Linked DNA regions of Homo sapiens: all the other regions are linked to region 1. The links are contacts of gene promoters, found by promoter capture Hi-C in blood cells and fetal thymus (Javierre and others, 2016). All regions are on one chromosome and are shown on one strand. The core of a region is centred on a gene start or on the middle of the fragment in contact, and the rest is flanking DNA. Distances in the headings are between cores, read along the strand shown.

Region 1 (2,907 bases), core at 299-2,798:
AGGGCTGGGTAGCTGCCCCCACCTCTGCCTGCTGACAGTTCTCCCACAGGGCTCAGAAGGGAAGAAAAGCTCAGCCTCTGGGTCGTCAGAGGCAGGTTCAAATCCCACCTATGCCATTTCCCTGCTGTGTGACCCCAGGCCAGTCACTAGGCCTCTCTGGACCTCTGTCTCCTGTGAACTGAGCCTGCCCCGTAGGATTGCCAGGATCCTCTGAGCTTGGCCATGAGGTTGGCTGAGCACAGGCCCTGGCATGGAGTTGGAGCCTGGAACCCTGGTGGCTGCTATTATTGTTATTTGTTATTACTACTTTTTTGCAGAGATGGGGTCTCACTATGTTGCCCAGGCTGGTCTGGGACTCCTGGCCTCAAGTGATCCTCCAGCATCGGCCTCCCAAGATGCTGGGATTATGCGTGTGAGCCACTGCGCCAGGTCCTACTGTTATTATTATTTTATTCACTGGACCCAGAAAGGAGAAGGGACCCAGAAAGGAGAAGGGGCCTCCAGCAGCGGTGGGAGACGGGGATGGGAAGCAGGTGGGATTGTGGGAGGGAGATTGGGACCACGGTGAGCTGAAGCCAGGGAAGAGGAACAGGGACCCGCCAAAGACCTTGGGTGCTGCTGTCCAGGGTGGTTATTTTTAGAATCTGGCAACTGCCTGCCATCCCACCCCCAGCTGCTGCCCCGCCCCACCCCCACATTCCGGGGCTCGGCTTGCACCAAGTCAGCAGGCCCAAGACAGGTGGGCCAGGGTGGCTGGGAGGACACGGGTCCAGGCCTCGGGGCTCAAGGACATCCTGGGATGGCAGCCCAGACCCCCTCCCTTCAGAGGATGCCCCCCTAATCCCTGCCAGGGACACCCCAGGAGAGGGCACTGAGGCAGGGTGGTGACCCCCCCCACAAGAGACATAAGCAGAAAGCCCCAGAGCCACACACCCCCACCACCGCAGACTCCCCAGATCACACTGTAAACTAAGTCACACAGTCACACTTCCAAACTCAAGGACATGCCCAGGACACTCATGTGTCCGCTACTAAGTCAGAAACAAGGTCACAGGGACCCACACAGTAGCAAACGCAAAGAAAGCCTGCGACACCTGCTCTTGCAGACTCTGCTAGGCGACAGACACACCTCCCACGGCTTGTGGCGCCAGTGTTGGCGACAAACTGTAATGAACACAGGCCTGGCTCAACAGCCCCTTGCAGGGGGTGACAGTTGGCAGCTGTCAGGACCCCTTTCATCTCGGATCCCTCCCCATAACCCAAGACTTGTGCCGCAGAAATCACAGGTCCCAGTGGGGGGTTCAGGCAGCCTCACAGATGGAGGGGCCTCCCAGACACACAAGGGTCAACCTTCCCACGCACCGACCTGCCTTTGTATAGGAGGATGTTGGTGGAGCAAGGGGTGACACACAGACCCTTTCCCAAGCCAAGCCTCTAGCACCCACAGAAATCCCCTACTCTGGCCCCCACCCAGATTCCCGCCCCGTGCAGTACCTGGCTGGGCTGGGCTGAAGGGGGGCTGTCTGTATCCTGGAGGTGACACTGACCCAAAGGAAGGGCCAGCAGCCGTGGCCTTATATAGGGGGACCTAGGCTGTGCTATTGGCTGGGAGGGGTTGTCCCCAGGGAGGAGTTCTGGAGGGCAGCTGAGCCTCTCACCTCCCTGCTCCCGCACCATACCCACCCTGAACCCAGGCATGCTTTGCGCCCAGCCCCATGGCCTTGTATGGGCTGAGCCGCCCCAGGGGCTGGGCTCACGCCCCCCCACCAAGCTGATACCCTGACCAAGTGCTGAGTTGGGCTGGCGGTGGGGACAGCTGGCCCCCCGCCGGGAACATGGGACGGTGGCTGGGAACGTCCCAAGCACGTAGAAGCCACCGTCCCCTGGCCCCTGAGTCTCCTTCAGCCACCAGCCCTTCCTGTGGCCCTCGGCTCCCCCTGTGCCCCCTGGGCCCTCACCCCTACCCGAGTCCCAGCGGCACCTCGGGGAACCAAGGTGTGGCTCCAGGAGGAGCAGATACCCTGTGAGCTGGAGGAAGCAGAGGCCGGGAGAAGGACCAATTGCAATGGAGGGCAGTCTAACCCCAGAAACCCGCGCTTGGGCGCCCCTTCCTCCTAGGGACTGAGTGGAGGGGAAACTGAGGCTGGCTGAGTTGGAGAGATTCAAACTCAGGGCAAGGGTGGGAGGCGGTGGTCACCCTCCCCCCCACTTAACCCTCGCCCCCTCGGTGCCACTGGGAGATTTCCGCTGTGCGGGGGACAGGGAGGGTCTCGGTCGCCGGGAAAGGAGTTATTTTTAGAGGGCGCTTTGCTGTCTCCTCTGCCGCAAAGGCCGAGACCCGAGGCGCTGGGTATGGGGGGGTTCGGGGGCAGGTGTTGGAGGGGGGTTCGCCACGTGTCCTGGTTAATTATAACCGGGCGTCTCGGGTGTCCTCGGGCCTCGCCTCCTTACAAGGGCAGCCACGGGGCCCTGGGTGGCCGCTCCCACCTCCCGGGGAAGGGGGCTGGGCAGCGACGCCGTTCAGAGCGCGGGCGCCAGACTCGCGCAGATCTGGGCAGAGCAAGCGCTCTCGGCGCCTCGGCTGTGAGCAAGGACTTCCAGGGCTGAGAGGGGGGTTCTGTGGAGGAGAGTACAGTATAGAGGAAGCCGCTTTCTCCTCCTGGGACGCGCCAGGATTGCAGGCTGATCGGGTCTCCTCCTCCAGGGAGCTCCCAGGATTGCGACGAAGAAAAGAATGTCCCTTCCCTCTGAGTTCCTCCCTATCCCAGGGTCTCCTGGGTCTCCTTCACATCTTCTTAGGCAGGTGAGGACTGGCTTAGAGAAAGGGAGCCTCTGTGCCTCTCCCTCAGACTCCTGATCTGAGGGGGGAGGGGAGAGGGGTGCTTTAGAAATATTTACATGGGGCCC
Region 2 (2,907 bases), core at 1-2,500, 660 kb before region 1:
CAACATGCAAGAAGTACTGCCAATACTGCCAACCAGAGCAGCTCACTCGAGATCTTTGTGTCCAGAGTTTTTTGTTTGTCTTGAGACAGGGTCTGGCTCTGTTGGCAGACTAGAGTACAGTGGTGAGATCACAGTTCATTGCAGCCTTGACTTCTCAACGCCAAGTCATCCTCCCACCTCAGCCTCCTGAGTAGCTATGACTACAGGTATGTGCCACCACGTCTGGCTAATCTTTTTATTATTTGTAAAGTCGAGGTTTCCCTGTGTTGCCCAGGCTGGTCTTGAACTCTTGGCTCCAAGTGATACTTCTGCCTTGGCCTCCCAAAGTGCTGAATTAAGCAGCTCACCATCCACACGGCTGACCTCATACATCAAGCCAATACCGTGTGGCCCAAGACCCCCACCATAAATCACATCATTAGCATGAACCACCCAGAGTGGCCCAAGACTCCAAGATCAGCTACCAGGCAGGATATTCCAAGGGCTTAGAGATGAATGCCCAGGAGCTGAGGATAAAGGGCCCGATCTTTCTTTGGGCAAGGTTAAGCCTTTACTGCATAGCAGACCACACAGAAGGGTGTGGGCCACCAGAGAATTTTGGTAAAAATTTGGCCTCTGGCCTTGAGCTTCTAAATCTCTGTATCCGTCAGATCTCTGTGGTTACAAGAAACAGCCACTGACCCTGGTCACCAGAGGCTGCAATTCAGGCCGCAAGCAGCTGCCTGGGGGGTGTCCAAGGAGCAGAGAAAACTACTAGATGTGAACTTGAAGAAGGTTGTCAGCTGCAGCCACTTTCTGCCAGCATCTGCAGCCACTTTCTGCCAGCATCTGCAGCCAGCAAGCTGGGACTGGCAGGAAATAACCCACAAAAGAAGCAAATGCAATTTCCAACACAAGGGGGAAGGGATGCAGGGGGAGGCAGCGCTGCAGTTGCTCAGGACACGCTCCTATAGGACCAAGATGGATGCGACCCAAGACCCAGGAGGCCCAGCTGCTCAGTGCAACTGACAAGTTAAAAAGGTCTATGATCTTGAGGGCAGACAGCAGAATTCCTCTTATAAAGAAAACTGTTTGGGAAAATACGTTGAGGGAGAGAAGACCTTGGGCCAAGATGCTAAATGGGAATGCAAAGCTTGAGCTGCTCTGCAAGAGAAAATAAGCAGGACAGAGGATTTGCTCTGGACAGAGATGGAAGAGCCGGGAACAGAGAAGTGTGGGGAAGAGATAGGAACCAGCAGGATGGCAGGGGCAAAGGGCTCAAGGGTGAGGAGGCCAGTGGGACCCCACAGAGTTGGGGAGATAAAGGAACATTGGTTGCTTTGGTGGCACGTAAGCTCCTTGTCTGTCTCCAGCACCCAGAATCTCATTAAAGCTTATTTATTGTACCTCCAGCGGCTGTGTGCAATGGGGTCTTTTGTGGAAATCAAGGAGCAGACAGGTTTCATGTGTACTGTCACCACGTGGGATGGAACCAGAGGCATGGAAGCAAGACGCTAAATGAAGAGGGCCATAAGGGCTGGGATTCCCAGGCACCTTAGGAACAGCTTGTCTTTTTTTTTTTCCTCTCCAAAAAAAATGTTTAAGGGACGGTGTCTCCTGTCACCCAGGCTGGAGTGCAATGGCACGATCATAGCTCATTGCAGCCTCTAACTCCGGGGCTCAAGCAATCCTCCCACCTCAGCCTACCAAGTAGCTGTGACCACAGCTGCCCCTCACCATGCTAAGCTAATTTTTTTAATTAGATAGTACATAAACGTCCCAAAATTAGAAGATAAAAAGACATGAGGGATCCATTCTAATTTGTGTTTGGAGTGTAATGGTCCAGCTCCATTCTTCTGCACATGGATATCCAGTTTTACACAACACTGTGAATGTAATGAATGCCACTGAATCATACACTCAAAAATAGCTAAAATGGCAAATTGTCTGTTATCTCTTTTTAACCACCATTTTTGAAAATTAATTATACCAAAAAACCATTGAATAGTGCACTTTATTTATTTATTTATTTGTTTATTTATTTATTTATTTTAGAAATAAGAGTCTCACTTTGTTGCCCAGGCTGGAGTGCAGTGGCGTGATCATGGCTCATTGCAGCCTCGACCTGCTGGGCTCGGGCTATCCTTCCATCTCAGCCTCCCGAGTAGCTGGGACTATAGGTGGGCGCCACCCCACCTGGCTAAATCTCTTTTTAACTTTTGTAGAGATAGGCATCTCGCTATGTTGCCTAGGCTGGGCTGGAACTCCTGGGCTCAAGTGCTCCTCCTGCCTTGGCCTCCCAAAGCGCTAGGATTACAGATGTGAGCCACCGCGCCCACCCTGAACCTTACTTTTTTTGCTCAGTTTCTGGTAATTCAGAGAATGCCTCCTGAGTTGTTCTACACCCACCTCATATTCCATGGGAGGGCTGTACAGGGCTTTTTTAACGAGGCCTCTAAGGACAGGCATTTGTATCCTTTCCAGCCTTTCACTATTACAATGTTGTAGTGAATAACTTTACACACTGTCATTTATTTTACTTTTTTTTTTTTTTATTTTAGAGAAAGGAATCTTGCCATCTTGCCCAGGCTGGTCTCAAATTCCTGGGCCCAAACAATCCTCCCGCCTTGGCCTCCTAAAGTACTGGGATTTATAGGCATAAGCCACCGTGCCTGGCCAATGCACACTGTCATTTAGCTCATGTTAACACCTGAGTGTAGGACACACTCCTGGAGGTGGAATTGCTGGGCCAAAGAGTATGTTTCTTGTCATTGTGATAGATATTGACAAATGAACCCTCACAGAAGTTGTGCTGAGTTCTGTTCCCACCAGCGACGTAGGCGATGACCTTTTTCTGGAGGGAGGGGGCATCCTTGGAGTCCACAGAGCCAGGAATGGAGAGTGGGCCCAGAATTTTGGTATAGGTGT
Region 3 (2,907 bases), core at 137-2,636, 610 kb before region 1:
TTCTGGGATTTCCACTCTGATAGGGGAGACATGGCCCCTATATTTTGGGAATTTCCAATCTGATGGAGGAGACATGACCCAAGCCTCTAGGGTCTTCCAGTTTGATGGGAGAGACACCTCTCAAAGTCTGGGAATTTGTAGTCTGATAGGGGAAACACAGACCCCAGCAGACACTACTGGGACCCAGAATCCACCTCCACCACCGCACAAGTCACCTCCTTCCTCAGTCTCCTTCCCAGCACCCTACATGGGGAGTGCCAGCCAGCTGGGGGGAGGCCAGCAAGGGTTGGGAAGGGGACACCATGCCAGATGCAGACCAAACTGACCCAGCCCGCTCGCTCTCTCCCCAGCTGCAGCAGTTGCCACGATGATCGTGCCCGTGCCCACCAAGCCAACGGAGGGCCAGGACGTAACACTGACCGTGCAGGGCTACCCCAAGGACCTGCTGGTCTACGCCTGGTACCGCGGGCCTGCCTCCGAGCCCAACCGGCTGCTCAGCCAGCTGCCGTCAGGAACCTGGATTGCAGGCCCCGCGCACACAGGCCGGGAGGTGGGCTTCCCCAACTGCTCGCTGTTGGTGCAGAAGCTGAACCTCACAGACACTGGCCGCTACACACTCAAGACTGTCACAGTGCAGGGCAAGACTGAGACACTGGAAGTGGAGCTGCAGGTGGCCCGTGAGTGTGTGGGAAGGGGCAAGGCGTGCCCCTTTTTAGACAAGGGCTCCCAAAAGGAGCCTTTGCTTCCTCCATCAGGCTGGGGGGACATAGACCAAAGATGGATACCCATCCCCCATCAGGCTGAAGGAAGCAGCCTTGTCTCCTCCGCCTAACTTGGGGGTCCCCAAATAGGGTTCTGCCTCTTCTATCAAACTAATGACCTACACTGTGGGTAGACAGGCCTCCTCCATCAGACTGAGGGTTGCTAAAGGGGACCCCCATGCCTTCTCTCTCAAATAAGAGGTACAGCACACTGAAGGTTTTAAAAGAGAAGGCATAGTCTGATGGTGGAGCATCCTTTTTCCTGCAGACAGGTGGACCCTAAAACATAGGGTCCATATTGGGGTAATGGGTTAATTATAGGAGTTTACCTCTCCTATCAGACTGCAGGCAGAGAATAAGGATGAATCAGGCCTCCCTATTCAGACTGGGAGATCCTGTGCAGTGGGGATCATGTCTCCTCCTTTCTATTATTGTGAGGGCAAAGTTTCTATCATCAGATGGTGGAGTTTCTCTTTCAAACTGAAATAAGGATGATTGCTCCATTAGGATGGAGGCCTGTAGGTGTGGAAGTTGTGTCTCCTCACAGAATGGAAGTTCCCAGATGTTGGGGACCATGTCTCCCCATCAGACTGGGAGCTCTTAGAAGTCAGGAACAATGTCTCCCCCATTGGATTGGGAATTCCCAAGTGTTGGAGACCATGTCACCTCCCTCAGACTGGGAGCTCTCAGATGTTGGGAACCGTGTCTCCCCATCAACTGGGAGCTTCTAGAGTCAGAAACTATGCCTCCTCCATCAGACTAGGAGCTCCCAGAGTCAAGATCCAGGTCTCCTCCATCAGACTGAGAGCTCCCAGAGTTATAGACCATGTTTCCTCCGTCAGACTGGGAGCTCCCAGAGGCAGAGACCACGTCTCCTTCATCAGACTGGGAGCTCCCAGAGGCATGGTCCATGTCTCCTCCATCAGACTGGGAGCTCCCGGAGTCAGGGACTATGTCTCCCTCGTCAGACTGGGAACTCCAGGAGTGAGGGTCCATGTCTCCTCCATCAGACTGGGAGCTCCCAGAGTCAGGGACCATGTTTCCTCCATCAGACTGGGAGCTCCCAGAGTCAGGGACCATGTCTCCTCCATCAGACTGGGAGCTCCCAGAGTCAGGGTCTATGTCTCCTCCATCAGACCGGGAGCTCCCAGAGTCAGGGACCATGTCTCCTTCATCAGACTGGGAGCTCCCAGAGTCAGGGACCATGTCTCCTTCATCAGACTGGGAGCTCCCAGAGTCAGGGACCATGTCTCCTCCATCAGACCGGGAGCTCCCAGAGTCAGGGTCTATGTCTCCTCCATCAGACCGGGAGCTCCCAGAGGCATGGTCCATGTCTCCTCCATCAGACTGGGAGCTCCCAGAGTCAGGGTCTATGTCTCCTCCATCAGACTGGGAGCTCCCAGAGTCAGGGACCATGTCTCCTCCATCAGACTGGGAGCTCCCAGAGTCAGGGACCATGTCTCCTCCATCAGACTGGGAGCTCCCAGAGTCAGGGACCATGTCTCCTCCATCAGACTGGGAGCTCCCAGAGTCAGGGAGCATGTCTCCTCCATCAGACTGGGAGCTCCCAGAGTCAGGGACCATGTCTCCTCCATCAGACTGGGAGATCCCAGAGTCAGGGTCTATGTCTCCTCCATCAGACTGGGAGCTCCCAGAGTCAGGGTCCATGTATCCTCCATCTGACTGAGCATCCCCAGAGGTCTGAGTCCATGTCCCTACAGCAGGGCCAGGTTTCCCCCATTAGCTCTCAGACACTGGGGATGAGATCATTCCCCAAGTCTGGAATCTTGCCTCCCCCAGCAGACAGAGCATTCTCAGAAGCCATGTCCCTGAGTCCGGGATGGTGCCTCCCCTATCACTGGAAATTTCCAGGATCAAGGACTCAACCACTGCCAGTCACCCACTTTCATCCAGTCACTGATCAAACCCTGGTTTTCTGGGTCAGTGTTAGGGGAGAATGCTGTTCAGTGGCAGCAGGCCACCCCGGCAAAGCCTTGGGATTCCTTTTCACCCATTCTCTCTTCTCACAGTCAACCTCCCTCCCTCGCACAAGGACCAACGCTACCTTCCTGAACCTGAACCTGGCACAGGCTGAGCGTGGGGTGGATTGGGCCACTGGGTGGCCCGGGGTGGGCAGGGGAGCAGA
Region 4 (2,907 bases), core at 265-2,764, 520 kb before region 1:
GGAAGTTGCAGTGAGCCAAGATTGTGCCACTGCACTCTAGCCTGGGCGACGGTGCAAAAACTCCGTCTCAAAAAGAAAGAAAGAAAGAAAGAAATCCCCACTGGCTCCCCAGGGCTCTAAGAACTCAAGCCAAAGTCCTCTCCGCCGCCCAAAGACCTGGGGCTGGGGATCTGACTCTTCCCCACCTCTCTGATCTCCCCTACTCCACCTCCTTTCCGGCAACATTGGACCCTTGCTGCTCTTCTAACTTGCCAGCAAGCCTCCACTCACTCGGAGCCTCTGTCTGGATCCTTCTTGCACTCAGGCATCAGCTGGGTCATTCCCATCTCCAAGAGGCCTCCCCGGCATCTTCCCTCTCCCAGGCACTTTGAAGGACATGGAACTTGCTCTGGGACATTTCCTTGTTCAGGAGCTGATCAGTCACTGCGAGCCTCGGGTTCAGTGGAGCATCAGCTCCACCAGGACAAAGATAGTTTTCTGTCTTGTTCACAGCTGTCTTCTCAGAGCGAAAAACAGGGCCTTGGCCTGGCGCGGTGGCTCATGCCTGTAATCCCAGCACTTTGGGAGGCTGAGGCAGGAGGATGGTTTAAGCCCAGGAGGTCAAGGCTGCAGTGAGCTATGGTCCCATCACTGCACTCCAGACGAGGCAACAGAGCGAGACCCTGTTTTGCTTTGTTTTGTTTTGAGACAGTTTCGCTCTTGTTGCCCAGGCTGGAGTGCAGTGGTGCAATCTTGGCTTATGGCAATCCCCACCTCCTGGGTTCAAACGATTCTCCTGCCTCAGCCTCCCAAGTAGCTGGAATTACAGGAATGTGCCACCACCCCTGGCTAATTTCGTATTTTTCATAGAGACAGGGTTTCACCATATTGGCCAGGCTGGTCTCAAACTCCTGACCTCAGGTGATCCACCCACCTCGGCCTCCCAAAGTGCTGGGATTACGGGTGTGAGCCACCGCGCGTGGCCCCTGTTTTTTCGGTTTGTTGTTGTTGTTGTTGTTGTTTTTAAAAAAGAAAGAAAAGTAAAGAAAGAGAGAGAGAAAGAAAGGGAGAGAAAGAAGGAGGGAGAGAGAAAGGAAAGAGAGAGAAATAGAAAAAGAAAGAAAGGGAGGGAGGGAAAGAGAAAAAAGAAAGAAGGAAGGAAGGAGAGAGCGAGAGAGAAAGAAGAAAGAAAGAAAAGAAAAGAAAGAAAAAGAAGAAAAAAGAAAGAGAAAAGGAAAAGAGAATAAAAGAAAGAAAGGGCCTGACCCACTGGAGAGGCTTGGGAACTGTCTGTGGGGCACACAAGTGAGCAGAAGGGTGGACACATGGATGGACAGGCGGACAGACAAACTGAAACTTCATCCTACACGAGTTAGAGGTGAGAGGGAAAAGGCAGCATGGACTAGGGACAAGGCCAAAGGTCCTGTCAGATGGTGGCCGCCACCACTGTGTCACCCCTGTCCAGGGCCTGTGAAAGGACGTCCACCCAGGCTGCAGCCTAGCAGAGACATTTCTTCATCTCCTCCCCCCAGGCACTTTTGGCCCTCCCCAGACTTCGGGCCCCTCTTCTCTTGCCAAGAATTAAGGCTGTGGCCTCAGCCGCGCAGGAAGCCACCTCCAGCCCCCAGGTGGTCTGGGACTCCCAGGTCTAAGACAAAGGGGACAGGGAAGAGGGGCAGAGGGAAAGATTGGATGCCGGGAATCAACCGCCCTCTCAAAATATCTCCATTGCAGAGACTCCTAAAGGGGAACTCCCCTCCAGCTGCGCTGGGACCCCAGGACCCTGCCCCGGCCTGAAGGCCAGGTGAGTCCATTCCCTAACCCTCCCTGGCCCACTCCACCCCACTCCACCCTCCTCCACCTGGAGGTGACCTCATCTAACCCACCCCTCTCTCCGCCTACAGGGCACCCAGATGTGCTGCTCAAGGGAGCCCCAAGGGCTGGAAGGGGGTTGTGAAACCGAAATAAACTGCCAAGCCTGGTCTGTCCTCCAGGGTGCAAAGGAAGAGTGCAGTGGCCAGCAGGGGGCAGCAGAGGGCAGCAGGCACTGGGAAAGGGCCGTCCCCAGGCCTGGTCCCCACCTGAACAACAGGAGTCCAGGCCCCAGCCCCTCCTCCCTCAGACTCAGGAGTCCATACTCCAGCCCCTCCTCCCTCAGACCCAGGAGTCCATACTGCAGCCCCTCCTCCCTCAGACCCAGGAGTCCATACTCCAGCCCCTCCTCCCTCAGACCCAGGAGTCCATACTCCAGCCCCTCCTCCCTCAGACCCAGGAGTCCATACTGCAGCCCCTCCTTCCTCAGACCCAGGAGTCCATACTCCAGCCCCTCCTCCCTCAGACCCAGGAGTCCATACTGCAGCCCCTCCTCCCTCAGACCCAGGAGTCCATACTGCAGCCCCTCCTTCCTCAGACCCAGGAATCCATACTGCAGCCCCTTCTCCCTCAGACCCAGGAGTCCAGGCCCCAGCCCCTCCTCCCTCAGACCCAGGAGTCCATACTGCAGCCCCTCCTCCCTCAGACCCAGGAGTCCATACTCCAGCCCCTCCTCCCTCAGACCCAGGAGTCCATACTGCAGCCCCTTCTCCCTCAGACCCAGGAGTCCAGGCCCCAGCCCCTCCTCCCTCAGACCCAGGAGTCCATACTGCAGCCCCTCCTCCCTCAGACCCAGGAGTCCATACTCCAGCCCCTCCTCCCTCAGACCCAGGAGTCCATACTGCAGCCCCTCCTTCCTCAGACCCAGGAGTCCATACTGCAGCCCCTTCTCCCTCAGACCCAGGAGTCCAGGCCCCAGCCCCTCCTCCCTCAGACCCAGGAGTCCATACTGCAGCCCCTCCTCCCTCAGACCCAGGAGTCCATACTCCAGCCCCTCCTCCCTCAGACCCAGGAGTCCATACTGCAGCCCCTTCTCCCTCAGACCCAGGAGTCCAT

What was found. Contacts are between HindIII fragments. The CHiCAGO score rates a contact against its expected background, and 5 or more counts as called.
Region 2: a fragment that was not itself captured here is called in contact with the fragment with the promoter of CKM in region 1 in 2 of 17 cell types (total B cells and total CD4 T cells); the score reaches 5.7 in total B cells.
Region 3: a contact is called between a fragment that was not itself captured here and the fragment with the promoter of CKM in region 1, in 2 of 17 cell types (total B cells and erythroblasts). The highest score is 5.9, in total B cells.
Region 4: a fragment that was not itself captured here is called in contact with the fragment with the promoter of CKM in region 1 in 1 of 17 cell types (total CD4 T cells); the score reaches 5.0 in total CD4 T cells.

What each region holds. Positions count from the first base shown.
Region 1 is chr19:45,321,327-45,324,233 of GRCh38, forward strand. It overlaps CKM (creatine kinase, M-type), which reads right to left and starts at 1,549. Exons shown (of 8, transcript NM_001824.5): 1 at 1,495-1,549. RefSeq lists an enhancer at 2,273-2,515. The HindIII fragment of the contact is 13,711 bases long and covers 1-2,907 here.
Region 2 is chr19:44,662,193-44,665,099 of GRCh38, forward strand. PVR (PVR cell adhesion molecule) reads left to right here. Exons shown (of 8, transcript NM_006505.5): 8 at 1-2,907. Among named protein-coding and RNA genes, the nearest start is that of CEACAM19, 7.8 kb to the right of the region's middle. The HindIII fragment of the contact is 240 bases long and covers 1,131-1,370 here.
Region 3 is chr19:44,707,511-44,710,417 of GRCh38, forward strand. CEACAM16 (CEA cell adhesion molecule 16, tectorial membrane component) reads left to right here. Exons shown (of 7, transcript NM_001039213.4): 6 at 351-677. All of the region lies in intron 1 of CEACAM16-AS1 (CEACAM16, CEACAM19 and PVR antisense RNA 1), which reads right to left. Among named protein-coding and RNA genes, the nearest start is that of CEACAM16, 9.8 kb to the left of the region's middle. The HindIII fragment of the contact is 7,361 bases long and covers 1-2,907 here.
Region 4 is chr19:44,798,668-44,801,574 of GRCh38, forward strand. It overlaps CBLC (Cbl proto-oncogene C), which reads left to right. Exons shown (of 11, transcript NM_012116.4): 10 at 1,714-1,783; 11 at 1,884-1,985. The coding sequence ends at 1,776. Among named protein-coding and RNA genes, the nearest start is that of BCAM, 9.0 kb to the right of the region's middle. RefSeq lists an enhancer at 1,771-1,820. The HindIII fragment of the contact is 9,209 bases long and covers 1-2,907 here.